2 separate regions of the Homo sapiens genome follow, and region 2 is linked to region 1. Evidence: promoter capture Hi-C in human tissues and cell types (Jung and others, 2019). All regions are on one chromosome and are shown on one strand. Each heading gives the region's core, a stretch centred on a gene start or on the middle of the fragment in contact. The rest is flanking DNA. Distances are from core to core; before and after follow the strand shown.

The links. The method cuts DNA at HindIII sites, captures the fragments that hold promoters and counts their contacts. A contact is called where the count stands out against the background at its distance.
Region 2: a fragment that was not itself captured here is called in contact with the fragment with the promoter of FBXL4 in region 1 in 1 of the 25 tissues and cell types used here (dorsolateral prefrontal cortex).

Annotation. Positions count from the first base shown.
Region 1 is chr6:98,944,685-98,951,358 of GRCh38, forward strand. FBXL4 (F-box and leucine rich repeat protein 4) reads right to left here and starts at 3,262. Exons shown (of 10, transcript NM_001278716.2): 1 at 3,122-3,262. RefSeq lists enhancers at 2,152-2,341, 3,145-3,656 and silencers at 2,782-3,091, 3,389-3,683. The HindIII fragment of the contact is 15,139 bases long and covers 1-6,243 here.
Region 2 is chr6:97,664,701-97,671,268 of GRCh38, forward strand. The region is part of intron 3 of LOC101927314 (a long non-coding RNA gene); the gene reads left to right. Among named protein-coding and RNA genes, the nearest start is that of MIR2113, 360 kb to the right of the region's middle. RefSeq lists an enhancer at 3,509-4,367. The HindIII fragment of the contact is 4,876 bases long and covers 1-4,516 here.

The sequences.
Region 1 (6,674 bases), core at 2,012-4,511:
GGGCAGGTTTGTTTACCATGTGGGAAAATAAAGATAATGTCTCCCTCTCTGGCAAAGATCAGACAGCTTTATTTGCAGCCCACTATGAAAGATTCAGGTTCCCTAAACTAAGGACTCCTCTCCTGTAACATAACCTACTTCATCTGCTAGTGTCACTGGGCTCTTATCACATCACCCTGTGGAAATCAGGGTTCCAGCAAATCAGCATAAGATGATCCTCTGGCTACCGTTCCTGTTGTGCTTTGTCTCTGAGTCAGGAGTCTCATATTTTCTGCCAGTTTCCATGAAACTGTTAGCTTGCAAGTAGGGTATGATCTCAGATCCTTGACAATTCTTGGCAATGTGATATGGCAAAAGCAATATTTTAACAAATTGTATAAATTTACTCTTACCAACAACTTTTGAGGAGCACTTTGGCAGAATCTCTCATAATTTAACACTTATGTGTAGCCTCTGACCTAGCAATTCCATATCTTAGGAAATGAACTAACATGCAAACATGACAGTATACAGAATAAACACAAAAATGATCCTTGCAGTTCTGTTTGTAATAAATTTGGAATAATGCCAACAGGGGACTGGCTAAATAACTTTTGGGTTATTCCTACAATGAAATACCAAAAGACTTACAAAAAAGACAAGATACTATTATATGCACTGACACAGAAGGATGTTTATCAATTATTATTAAGTGGAAGCTATAGAAAATTATAGATGGTACACTGCCATTTATGAAACAAAAGTAGACTTAAATATATTTATTTTTAAAATCTGCAAGCAGTGATCATCTTTATGGAACAAGGTTACTGGGTAGGTGGGCACACAGCACTTTCACTTCCTCCTTTAAGGATTTCTGTATTGCTTGATCTTTTTTAAAGAATGCATACATTTATTTCATGGGCTAATAAAGTTTTAAGTGTCCAGTGTAAAATTTATTATATTTTAGATATCCAGTTGTGATGGTAAAATACAAATGGATATGAGGATATCTTCCTCATATCCCAGGGAACACTTCTACAGCCATTTATCTCTTAGATAACCATTTTTCTCTTAGAAACCAGGTACAGAACATCCTAAATCACAGGTGATGGGGAGAGACACACTACAGTTACTATGACACGGTGCAAAGTCAAAAGGCATGCAGATTTTTAATCAGGCTGCTTCTCTATGTAACTGTAAGGAGCAACTCTAGTCGCAAGTTCTGAATGAGCAACAGAAGGGATTTATTTACTAACAGTTAATGATTCAACTGACCATGGAAAAAGCAAGCTAAAATAAATGAATCTCAATAACTGGCAGGAAAATTTTAAAGGGGGGAGGGAGGCAAGAGGTAAAGAAAGGGAATCAACTTGCCCCCACTAAATGTGTTCATTTCAAAAATATTTAGTGATGTCTACAATATGCCAGGCATCGTTCAAATCCCTAGATATTAAAACACATTATAAACCTAGAGCAATAAGAGCATCACAGAAGCCAGGATCACCACAGGGAGCCAAAGAATACTAGACCGTTCAGAAAGTCCCAAGAATACACGGGAATTTAGGGCCTATGGTATTTATAGGACTGATCAGCAGGGAAAAATAGAATTCCAACAAATGATGATGGAGTCACTAACAAAATTATAAAGTTAGAGCCTTCTTATCTCACATTAAATATAAATAAGATCATTAACAATACTAGAAGAAAACGGAGGTGGATATTTATATACAATTCATGTAGATAAAGGCCTTTTTTAAAGGACACTGTGTTAGATCCGCGAAGTTAAGATCGAGAATGTTAACCGCAGCAACATTAAGAGGATGAGACTAACACAGTAAAGAAAGAAGGGGCAGTTTTTGTTAACTGACCATATGTGCAAGTACCATATGTACCATTGTACAGAGTACTATAATCGCATTATTTCATCACGGCGTGAGTAAAGAAATTATCCATCTTACAATGAGTTGACTTATCTGATTTTCAAATAACAGAAGGGAAGAGTTTGAAAATGCAGAGTTCAGAAAAGCCAACTTTTGGCGCAGAAGTTTAAAACAAAGTTAGTACTCAGAACATAAGTATGGAAAGAAGAATCCAATTCAAGGAACTTTTAGAGTGCCTACTAAAGCATAATGCACATTTCCCTCAAGTCCTTAATCTGATAAAGGACTATTGGAGCGCTGATGACTCTGGATGAATCTCTCTCTACTCAACCAACAGATACAATATGCGGTACAGGATAATGGAGGCAGGAAGTGAGCCTGAAAGAAAAAAATATATACCTATAGCTGAACTTAAGAAACCAAGGAGTGCACGCAAGAACCAGAAAAGGCAGCTTGTGTCTGTGAACAGACCAAAGCAAGCAGAGATCCCTGCACCTGGTGGTAATGTGCCCTCCGGAGCACAAAGCCAGACGGGCATCCTGCCAACGCAACTACCTGACCACAGGCTTATACCATCTTCACCTTCTATAATAGTTATTTGTATACTGTATTTCAATCTGTGAATGCATCTCGAAGGTTTGTGGCAATGATTACTGGGAAATCAAGGAAATCCAAAACCACCCGTTATAAATATGTCGACAAGGAGGCCAAGTAGATGGTCATCATCACACTCTAGGGGCACCCCTAAACCTAAACACAGAAACAAGGTTGTAGCTGGGCACCCTGTAGCAGTCCTGAAGAAAGAAAACAGGCCTGGTTAGGCAAAAACCATCGGATGTCAGAGGGAAATCAAGGCAGCAGGCACAGGAATCACAAGCACAGGCGGGCATGTGGCCGACGCGTGGCTGCCGGCGCAGCACTGAGCGCGGGTGTGGGGCGACCCGCAGTCCCCCGCGGTGTAAACAACCCTGAGCCGCGCACACGTCCGAACGACGCCTCACAGCCTGCAGGCAGACTGTAGCGTAGAAAGAGCCCGAGGCACGTCAGCAGTTCTCAAGGGCCCCAGCAAGCCCCGCAAGCGTGAAGCGGAGGCGCGGGGGCGCGGGGCCGCGGGCGGGGAGGGGCGGGCAGCGGGGGCCTCTGCCAGGCGTCCAGACTCCCCAAAGCGCGGAGCTGCGCGCTGGCTCGGCCCCGGCCCCGCCCCGGCGCCAAAGGAAGAAGACAGAGACCCACGGGAGGGAGAAGTAAAGGAAGGGCCGTACCCTGCAGGGTCCGGGAGAGGCGCGCGCCGCGGGCTTCACCAGCGACCAGGCAGCGCGAGAAGGCCTGGGTGCGGGGGCGGCTCCCCGACTCTCTAGATGCGGCACAACCGCCGCAAGCCCGGCCTAGCGCGACCCGGAAGGAAGACGCGGAGGCCGCGAGGAGCGGCGGGCCCGGGGAGGCGGGGCGGAGCCGGGGAGGAGGGGCGGGGCCGCGGGGTTGGGGCGGGGCCGGGGAGGCGGGGCGGGGCCTGGAGGGAGGCGGGGCGGGGCCAGAAGCAAAGCCGGGCGTTTCTCCCATGGGAGGTGCTCTGGGTCCTACGGACAGCCCGCTCCCAGGCCAGGGGGAGGAGCTTTCTGCTGGCTTCCTAGCTCCAGTGGTGCCCGTGTAAAGGGCCTAGGTCATACACAGCGGGTAGTGTCTACAAATCCTCTTCGGAATAATCCCTTCCGAGTACCGGCTCGCCATGTGTAGTGTGGTCCTACAAGGACTTCTTCAGTCCAGACTTGGTGGATCAGATGATACATAGGTAATACGGCTGGTACGCATACGTAGAGGAAAAGTATAATATACATTATATGCACTCTGAAGGTATAATTCACCTAGTTTACAAACCTCCTCTTCCCTGCATACAAATCCTGCCTGCAGGCTCATTTCCATACCAACGTTCAGAAGCCTCTGACCATTACCTCTGATGAAGAAGATGGTCTGGCAGCCTCTCTTACTCATTTTGATTTATTTTTGGTAGATTCAGTATGGCACTTTATTTATTTATTTATGTATTTTTTGAGACGGAGTCTCGCTCTGTCGCCAGGCTGGAGTGCAGTGGCGCGATCTCGGCTCACTGCAACCTCCACCTCCCAGGTTCAAGCGATTCTCCTGCCTCAGCCTCCCGAGTAGCTGGGACTACAAGGGCGCCAAGCTAATATTTTGTATTTTTAGTAGAGACGGGGTTTCACCATATTGGCTAGGATGGTCTTGATCTCCTGACCTTGTGATCCACCTGCCTCAGCCTCCTAAAGTGCTGGGATTACAGCCGTGAGCCACCGCGCCCGCCCTTGGCACTTTTTTTAGTTTGCATCATATTTATCTTGTTACAAAATATCCACTAAGATGGAAAATATTTAATAAAATGTTGAACTACACATTATTTGCTGTCTGAATGCTCCAATGAGGCAAACCAGTAAGGATATTTACTTATATATGAACAGAATCAATATATGATATGCAATATACATTGTATACAAAAAAATTAAAATTTTTATTTTCTTCAACTTTTTGATGCATAATAGCTGTACATATTTTCAGGGTATATGTGATAATTTGATTCATTTCTGTAATCAAATCAGCATAACTGGGTTACTCATCCCCTTAAATATTTATCTTTTCTTTGTGCTAGGAACATTCAAATTGTTCTCTTCTGGCTATTTTGACATGTACTATTGATAAATGTTAGCTGTAGTCACCCTACTGATCTATGGAACACCGGGTCTTATTTCTTCTAAGTGTATGTTTCTTCTAAGTGTATGTTTACCTCCCCTTGCTCCCCCATGGCCCACCCCCCCAATACTTCTCAGTCTCTGAGATCCACTTTCTGAACTCCCACATATGAGTGAGAACATGCATTATTTGCCTTTCTGTGCTTGGCTTATTTCACTCATCATAATGACCTCCAGTTCTATCCATGTTTGTTGCAAATAAAAGGATTTTGTGGAGGGTTTTATGGCTGAATAATATTCTATTGTGTATATGTACCCCATTTTCTTTATCCATTCATCTGTTGCGCGGACACTTAGGTCAATTCTAAATCTTGGCTATTGTAAATAGTGCTGCAATAAACATAGAAGTGCAGATATCTCTTTGATATATGTATTTCCTTTCTGTTGGATCTATACCCAATAGTAGAATTGCTGAATCATATAGTAGTTCTATTTTTAGTTTTTTGAAGAATCTTCAAACAGTTTTTCACAGTGGCTCTAGTAATATTCATTCCTGCCAACAGTGCACACGGGTTCCCCTTTCTCCACATTCTCACCAGTATCTTTTGTTCCTGGCTTTTTTTTTTTTTTTTTTTTTTTGATAAAAGCCATTCTCACTGGGGTGAGATATCTCATTGTTTTGATTTGCATTTATCTGATGATTAGTGATAAGGAGCATTTTTTCATATACCAGTTGGCCATTTGTATGTCTTCTTTTGAGAAATGCCTGTTCAGATCTTCTGCCCATTTTTTAATTGGATTATTTGTTTTTGTTTTTGTTTTTGTTTTTGCTTTCCTATTGAGTTGTTTGAGCTCCTTATATAAAATATTCTGGTTATTAATCCCTTGTTAAATAAATAGTTTGCAAATATTTTCTCCCATTCTGTGGGTTGTCTCTTCACTTGATTGTTTCCTTTGCTATGCAGAAGCTTTTAAGCTTGATGTTATCCCATTTGTCTATTTTCACTTTTGTTGCCTATGTGTTTCAGATCTTAACCAAAAAGATAAGATCTTGCCCAGACTTATGTCATGGAGACTTTTCCCTATGCTTTCTTCTAGAAGTTTCATAGTTTTGGGTCTTAAATTTAAGCCTTTAATCCATTTTGACTTGACTTTTCTATATGGTGAGAGATAAGGTTCTAATTTCATTTTTCTGCGTGTGGACATTAGTTTTTGCCAACACTGTTGAACAGACTGTCCTTTCTCCATTGTGTGTTCTTGGCACCTTTTGTAAAAAAAGCAATTGACCATAGATGTGTGGCTTTATTTCTGGCCTCTATATTCTGTTCCATTAGTTAATGTGTCTGTTTTTATGCCACTACCATGCTGTTTCGATTGCTATAGCTTTGTAATATATTTTGAAGTGACGTATTGTGATGACTTCAGCTTTATTCTTTTTGCTCAACATTGTTTTCTCTATCCAGGATTTTCTGTGGTTCCATACAAATTTTAGGATTTTTTTTTCTATTTCTGGGAAGAACATCATTGATATATTGTTAGAGACTGCATTGAATATGTAGATTGCTTTGGGTAGGTATGGACATTTTAACTATTCCTCCAATCCATAAACACAGAATATCTTTCCATTTTTTGCATCTTCTCTAATTTCTTTCATCAAGGTTTTATAGTTTGAGTGTACAGATCTTTCACCTCCTTGGTTAAATTTATTCCTAAGTATTTTATTTTATGGGTTGTTTTTGTAGTCATTGTAAGTGGAATTGTTTTCTTGATGTCTTTTTCAAATAGTGTGCTTTCTGTGTATAGAAATGCTACTGATTTTTGTATGTTGATTTTACATCCTGCAAACTTACTAAATTTATTATAACAGTTTTTTTTAGTAAAGTCTTTAGGTTTTTCTATATATATAAGGTCATATCATCTGCAAACAAGGACCGTTTAACTTCTATACAATTTAGATGCCTTATTTTTTTCTTACCTAACTGCTCTAGCTAGGATTGCCAGTACTATGTTGAATAGAAGTGAGAAAGCGGGCATCCTTGTCTTGTTCTGGTTCTTAGAGGAAAAGCATTCAACTTTTGTCTATTCAGTGTATTAGCTGTTGGGGACTTGTCATATA
Region 2 (6,568 bases), core at 829-3,328, 1.3 Mb before region 1:
ATTTTCAACCTGAGAGCTATTTATATAAATTTTAAAACAATATACACGAGAATAGTTTAGTAGCTCTTAAGTTTTAGGCACACATAAAAATAGAAATTAGGTGTCTTAAGGACATTTCTGTAATGCACTCATCTCCATTTTTTAAAGTAATTTATTATAAACGTCTTTCTTCTGCTTTTCCTTTTTGTTTTTAAAGGTGAAAGCAGTAGCGAAATAATTGACAGGTGCTACTGAGAATCTCCAGAAAATATATCTTGATCTGGATTATTGTGGAATCTTAAAACAAAATTTTCTAACATAATTGTAAACCATATTGTATTTTTGAGTGCAAAGGGCTAAGCACAGAAAGTGATCATAAACATTGCCTAGGTTATTCAATGTTCCAGGATTCTGAGGGTTGTGAGAAATGTTCAGAATGTTATCTCAGCTTTTGCATTTCTTTATAAAATGTAAGAAAACCATCCCCAAATGTTGGTGGTTGAGACTTCCATACAATTCTAAAAATCTTTGGAAATTGTTTTTTGTCTAACTAGTAATGCATATATTCCTCACCATGTTGTTGCCAGAATCATAAATTCTTTTATCTAGAAGCAAATGATTTTTATTTTTAGAAAAAAAGTATAAATTATGGACAAATTGAGTAAGAATGTCCTACTATTCGTATAGAGTTATATTTATACTAATCTTTCCCTTATAGCTTTTGCCCTTGTGTAAGTCATTTATCTAAAGAATCTCCTGAGCTTGCTTGCAATGTTGGTTAAGAAGTATTGACCATGAAGAATCTGAGTTCTAAACTCTGAGATGAGTTACACTTGTCTCAGAGTCAGAGACCCAGACAGAAAGGTGACTGTTGAGAGGCGGGCCAGGCATTTTCTTCCTCCTCACCGCCTCTTAACCTCATGTCCTCAAGGAGGAGTTCTGAGACCGCCGATAATCATCATAGCTCATGGGTCCAAGCCTTCCTACTGCAAGGAATTCTCATTATTTCAAGGGCTTTTTAATCAGTAAACAGTAGAAGACAATTACTGTATAGATCGGTTTAATTAGTTTATTTGATGCCCAGAGCATGTAAGTTTGCAACCAGGTTGTTTCTGCTAGCTATAGAATCATAAATTAATGGCAATGTTCTGGGCTGAAAAGATGATGCTCTGTGAGTGCTAACATGCTGGTACAGTCCTAATGGATTAGGAAGAGGATTGGTATACATGGAGCCTTTTACTAAAACAGGCCTCTCATGTCTTCATATCATCAACCATAATTTATTTTTTACCATCTCTTACTAGCATATTTCTAGTTTTCCATTAAATGACCTGAGGATACTGAGATATAGAGCTACCAAAAATCTGTATATTTAATATATTGAATCAAAATTTATTTATTCTCTATATTGTTTCTATCTTCTGTAGAACAATCTATATCAAATTATATATGTATAAAATTATGTATATAAAATAATTTCTGAGGATATAAGGACCTTGTATTTGAAAAGATGTTTTAATATTTTCTAGTAGGCATATTTTAGTGGCTCTAAATTATGTTTTCAAATTGTTGATTCAGTGCAACATCTCACTTTTTTAATCATTGTCATTTTTTTACTTGCTCCCCCAATCATGAAGCAAAGAAAACATGCATTTTCTCCTTCAGAAAATGCTACCCTTCCACAAATGCAAATTAGTTTGAGATAAAACAAACAAAAAAGAAACAGAAAGAAACAAAGAAAGAAAATCTTTAAAGCCTTTGACTGGTTACTTGAGCATTGTTCAGTAAGTAGACATAGTCACTATTCCCACCATGATTTTTAGAAGTTGTGACAAGAGCCATCCACATTCTTTTGTACATGACCAGTGGCACATTTGTGAGATGACCAGCGGCGGTTGGGGCTGTGTCTAGGAGCAGTTTTCTTTTTGTGAAGTTAATGGGCACATATGGGGATTGAACAAGCTTTACCATTCTTTCAGCTCCTCCTTCTTCCCTGGTCATGGATTTGAAAAATTGCCATTGAGACTGCAGTCAATGATCTTCTCCTTTCTGTTTTATGTAATTAATTGCCATTAATAGAAGATACCAGTCATGAGATAAATTTGGTTGAAGATGAGGTTAGACAATGAGACCTTGACTGATAATTTAAAATTTTAATTTTCTTTTCTTTTTTTTTTTTAAATTTGCTCCTTACCCCCTACATCATCTCCTACATCTTCCTAACTATCCTATGTGGTGTCCTCACTGATCTGATTGATGTTGGCCAGTATGAAAATAGTTTTTGTGGGACTATAGCCTGTTTACAATAAAAAGTAACACAATTAACTTAATTCTATAGCTTCTGAAACTGAGGTAAAAGTCATACTGAAATTCTGAATGCTTCATGGTAAACATACCTGAAAAGCCTGCTTCTACTGGATCTTCTCTTTCTTTTTGACTCTTAGTTTCAATGAAAAATGAAGAGCTTCTACTTATTGTAGAAGTCTTGATAATTTAGAACAATAAATAACAGTATGGAAGCAATTGACAGACAATTGTTTTCACAATGCTAACCAGGGTTTCCAAGTTGAACTATTTAACCCCAAATTTAAACAAAGCAGGCGTCTTTGTTTTAAGTGATAACACCTGTGCACAACCTGATGCCTGGTTGGACTAATAATTAGAAATAATATAGCAATTATTTATTGAATGCTTACCATGTGCTATTCATTGTACCCCAAATTTTAGTGTGTTATCTCATTAATTCTCATAGCAACACTATAAGGTAGATTTTTTTCCCCATTATAGATTAGAGAACCAAGTTTAGAATAGTTAATGTCAGGGTTAACTTACCTAAGGCCATGCAGTTAGTAACTAGAAGACTAAGTCTTTCTGACCCCAAAATCCCTTTGCCCATGTGCTTTTTTTGCTTGACTTCTTTGTTCCTTAGATAATCTTATTTTATTTATTTTTAAATAATAATAATATGGACTCAGTAAGATTATGTAGGGCACTGTATAGGTAGGAAACTGTTTAAACACGTATTTATATATAAAATGATAGAGCTGAATTTGATTATCCTCACACATCTATTAGTCTATAAATTGATGTCAAGAAATAGAGAATTTCAGCCAAGCAGGAATTTCTCTGAGAGAGGTTTGGTAATATTCATGGAGTCTAAAAAAAGGGGGAAAGAAACCAGGTTGGCAAACAAACAATAAAGGGACTAAAAAGGGGTGCCTTTTCTATGTAAAATCAAGAAATTAGAAAACTTCCTATTTTAACACATTATTAAAAATCACTTATTTTCTCATGATTTTCATTATAACAAAAAATCAAATCCAGAATCCTTTAGCAGGCATTCAGGATGCAGGGCCTCCTGATGCCAGAGTTAATAGCTTGTGATGAGAAACTGGCTGCCATGATCATATGTGGTTTGTGGGATCAGAAGTATGTTTGGTGTACTCATTTTCTAAATTAAATCTGTCCGGTCTGGATATCAGAAAGTAGGTTATCATTGATAATTCATTATCATACGTCTCAAATGATATTCCATGGAAGCCTTGGCCTTTTAAGATAGATAACAAAATAGTAGTAAATATTATCATTAGGTAAAAAAGGGGACGGCTCTGTGCCTTGGATATCTGTAGTAGGACCATTATCATTGTAGGAATGTGTTGAGAGAAGCTATTGGCATGCTAAAAATACACTACTTTAATAATAATCCATGCATAAAGGACCAAGAGAGAAGATATGGCAGAGAACTAATGAATTCTGGATCTTTTCCATATTTACCATTTCCACCAAAAAAATTAAATGCCGAATATTAAATTATAATGTTTAAACATAAAAAGTGAAATCTGTAATGTTAAAATGAACTTGAATCATGTAAATGTTAAATTTTTATTTAAAATGCGTCTCATTTTATTTATATTCAAAACAGATGCATGATTTTAAATACAGGGCGGTTGTAATATTCTAAGCACATATTTTAGGGACTTCCTCCCTTTTCCAAATCTCACTCAAGTGGAACATACACTCATTTCTGTAACAAAAATTCTTTCTACTCTATTGGCAAAATGAATAGCATCAACTCAAAATATTTAAAAATTTAGTCACATCCACATCCTGCAGCCTATAAGGAGCTTTCACGCTTTTGGGCTCGCTTTAGATCTTTAATACCCTTTCCTTTTGTGTCAAGGAGCTCACGAGGCGTAAAGAAGCACTGATAAACCCACTTAGATCCCTTCCTGGGCCGTCACCTCTCGCTGCCAAGCGGCTTTAGGTGGTAACTGATCTGTGACAGGCTGCCAGTCAAACAGAGCATTTCTGAAAGCTGACACAAAAGACTGAACGCTGGAGAATGGATAGGAAAAATAAGAAAAGGACCCAAACTGTATCAGTGCCCCCCACTCATCTCGGTCTGTTCCTCTTCGCTACCGCCCCCACCCTCTGGCCCACCCCTACCCTCCCTAACCTTTTTTGGTTGGTTTTTCTCTCTTTTCTTTTCTCATCCTCTTCCCTCCCAACCGCCCGCCTCCTCCCTCCCCCAGTTCCCTTTCCCAGAGCACAGCCTTTCCCCCCTGCTCTCTCTGGCTGGCTCCTTCTTAGTCAGGTTCATGGCAGGGGCAGCGTAGAGTGGAGAGATAGAGATCAGCAGCCCTTCCAAGCGGGGACTGCCCCAGTGCACTGCTGATAATAGAGGCAGAAGTGAGAGTGACAGTCAGATGGAAACTGACACAGGCCTTCTGTCAATGCCGCAGCTGCCCGTGGGACTGAGGAGGAAAGAGAGAGAGAGGGAGGGAGGGAGTTGAGCTGAAATGTCAGTGCCGATAACTGCACCAGCTCGCTATTTTTCTATGTAGGTGTCGTTCTATTCCACATGTGAGGCAAGGTTTTTTCCAACTCCGCAGCGCTTGCTGTTTCTTCTTGGCTGCTGTGAGTGTGTGAAGGAGCAGCTTACTTGGTGAAATCCTCACTTAATTTCTTCTGGTGCTGTGGAGCCCCGTTGTGTGATTGTGTTTGACAGTTTTTGTTCTCACAGCCTTTTGAGCATTTTAAAGATTGATAAATCTTGTCATATGAGAACCCCGAATGATGCCCGAATATTTCACATTCTTACAGCTGTAGATCGTTTCTGTATTTTCCTACATTAAAATAAGGCAAGAAAATATTAACTGAGAAATATGGGCAGTGACTCATTTTTCTGCCCAGGAGAAGGTTATGCTGAAAATGTCCCCAACAACAGACTTTTTATCTTGACTTTGGGACCTCTCTGGAGAGAACTTTAGGGTAGCTCTTCTTGTGTAATTAATTGTTTTCTTGAATTTTAAGAGTCGTAGTGGTACCATTGTTTATCAATAGATCCCATATTTCTATTTCTGAAGGTGAACTATTTTTAAATAAAATGACCAAAATGTATCTCTCTTTCTCTCTCTCTCTTTCTCTCTCTCTCTCTCTCTCTCTCTCACACACACACACACACACACCACACACGAAATAAAATAACAGTGACTGATGGTAACTATAGTTTCAGTTATACAACAAAGTGATAAAATCCATGAAGATACTTCAGTTCTGCTGAATCTCTACTTAACATCTCCAGTGGTTCAGAATCTCTACAAGGCTAGTAGCAGCTTAAAGTTTGAAGGATTTTTGTAACCCAAAAAATCAGGATCACCTGACATTTTACCCTGAGCTCAGTCCATTACAAATCATTTCTTCTTTTCTTTTTGAGAAAGTTACCAGCTGGGATCTTCTTTCTTGGCTATACTAAGGGCAAACCAAAAATCTGCACTAAAAGGGATGGGTGCAGATGAACTCATTTCACTATTGCGTATTTAAATAAAGGTAAGTGATAATAAACATGTTAGGTGATAGGTGATATAAAGATTATTATCCTGACAATCACCTCTTTCTAGGATGTTGCATTATGGAAGCATTGTGAGACACAGACACACACACACACACACACACACACACACGAGGGAGGGAGGAAGCAAGGGAGAGAGAAGATATCCCATGGGGGAATATTGATTATTTTTAATAGCCTGATTTAGCTTCTCAATTTAGTTTTTATGTCTTTTTCCTCTTAAGTAGATCTTTCAGGTGTATGTTTTATTCAAATTACAGTGCACCAAGGAGTATAGCTCAAGACAAAGTGAAATTATGTGGATTTAGAAAAAAAGGATCAAAATTATGGTTAGAAGAACTATATACATTTATAATTTTGCAGTACTGATATTTTATTTGATAGCATCTGTCAGAAACCATTAATCAAGTATCTGTATTTACATGGTGCTATACAACATTATGCAAATGGAGAGGCAAGAAAAGCAAGCCTAGGCTACCAGGGAGCTTTTTTCTCTAAGACATATAGAATTAACAAAGTTTTACACACAAGGCACAAAGACTAGAAGACAGCCACTAGCTAAGTGTATAAACTAAATTAACAATTGCATGCAAATAACATTCTATGCCAATGGGTCAGTGAAGAGAGTAGAGGGAACAGTTAGAATCATCATAGAAGTGTACGATGTAGAGAGAAGCAAGAAATGGGAAGGTTTTATGGACAAGATAAGATTTCAGGAGTTTCTTGAAATAAGGAGAA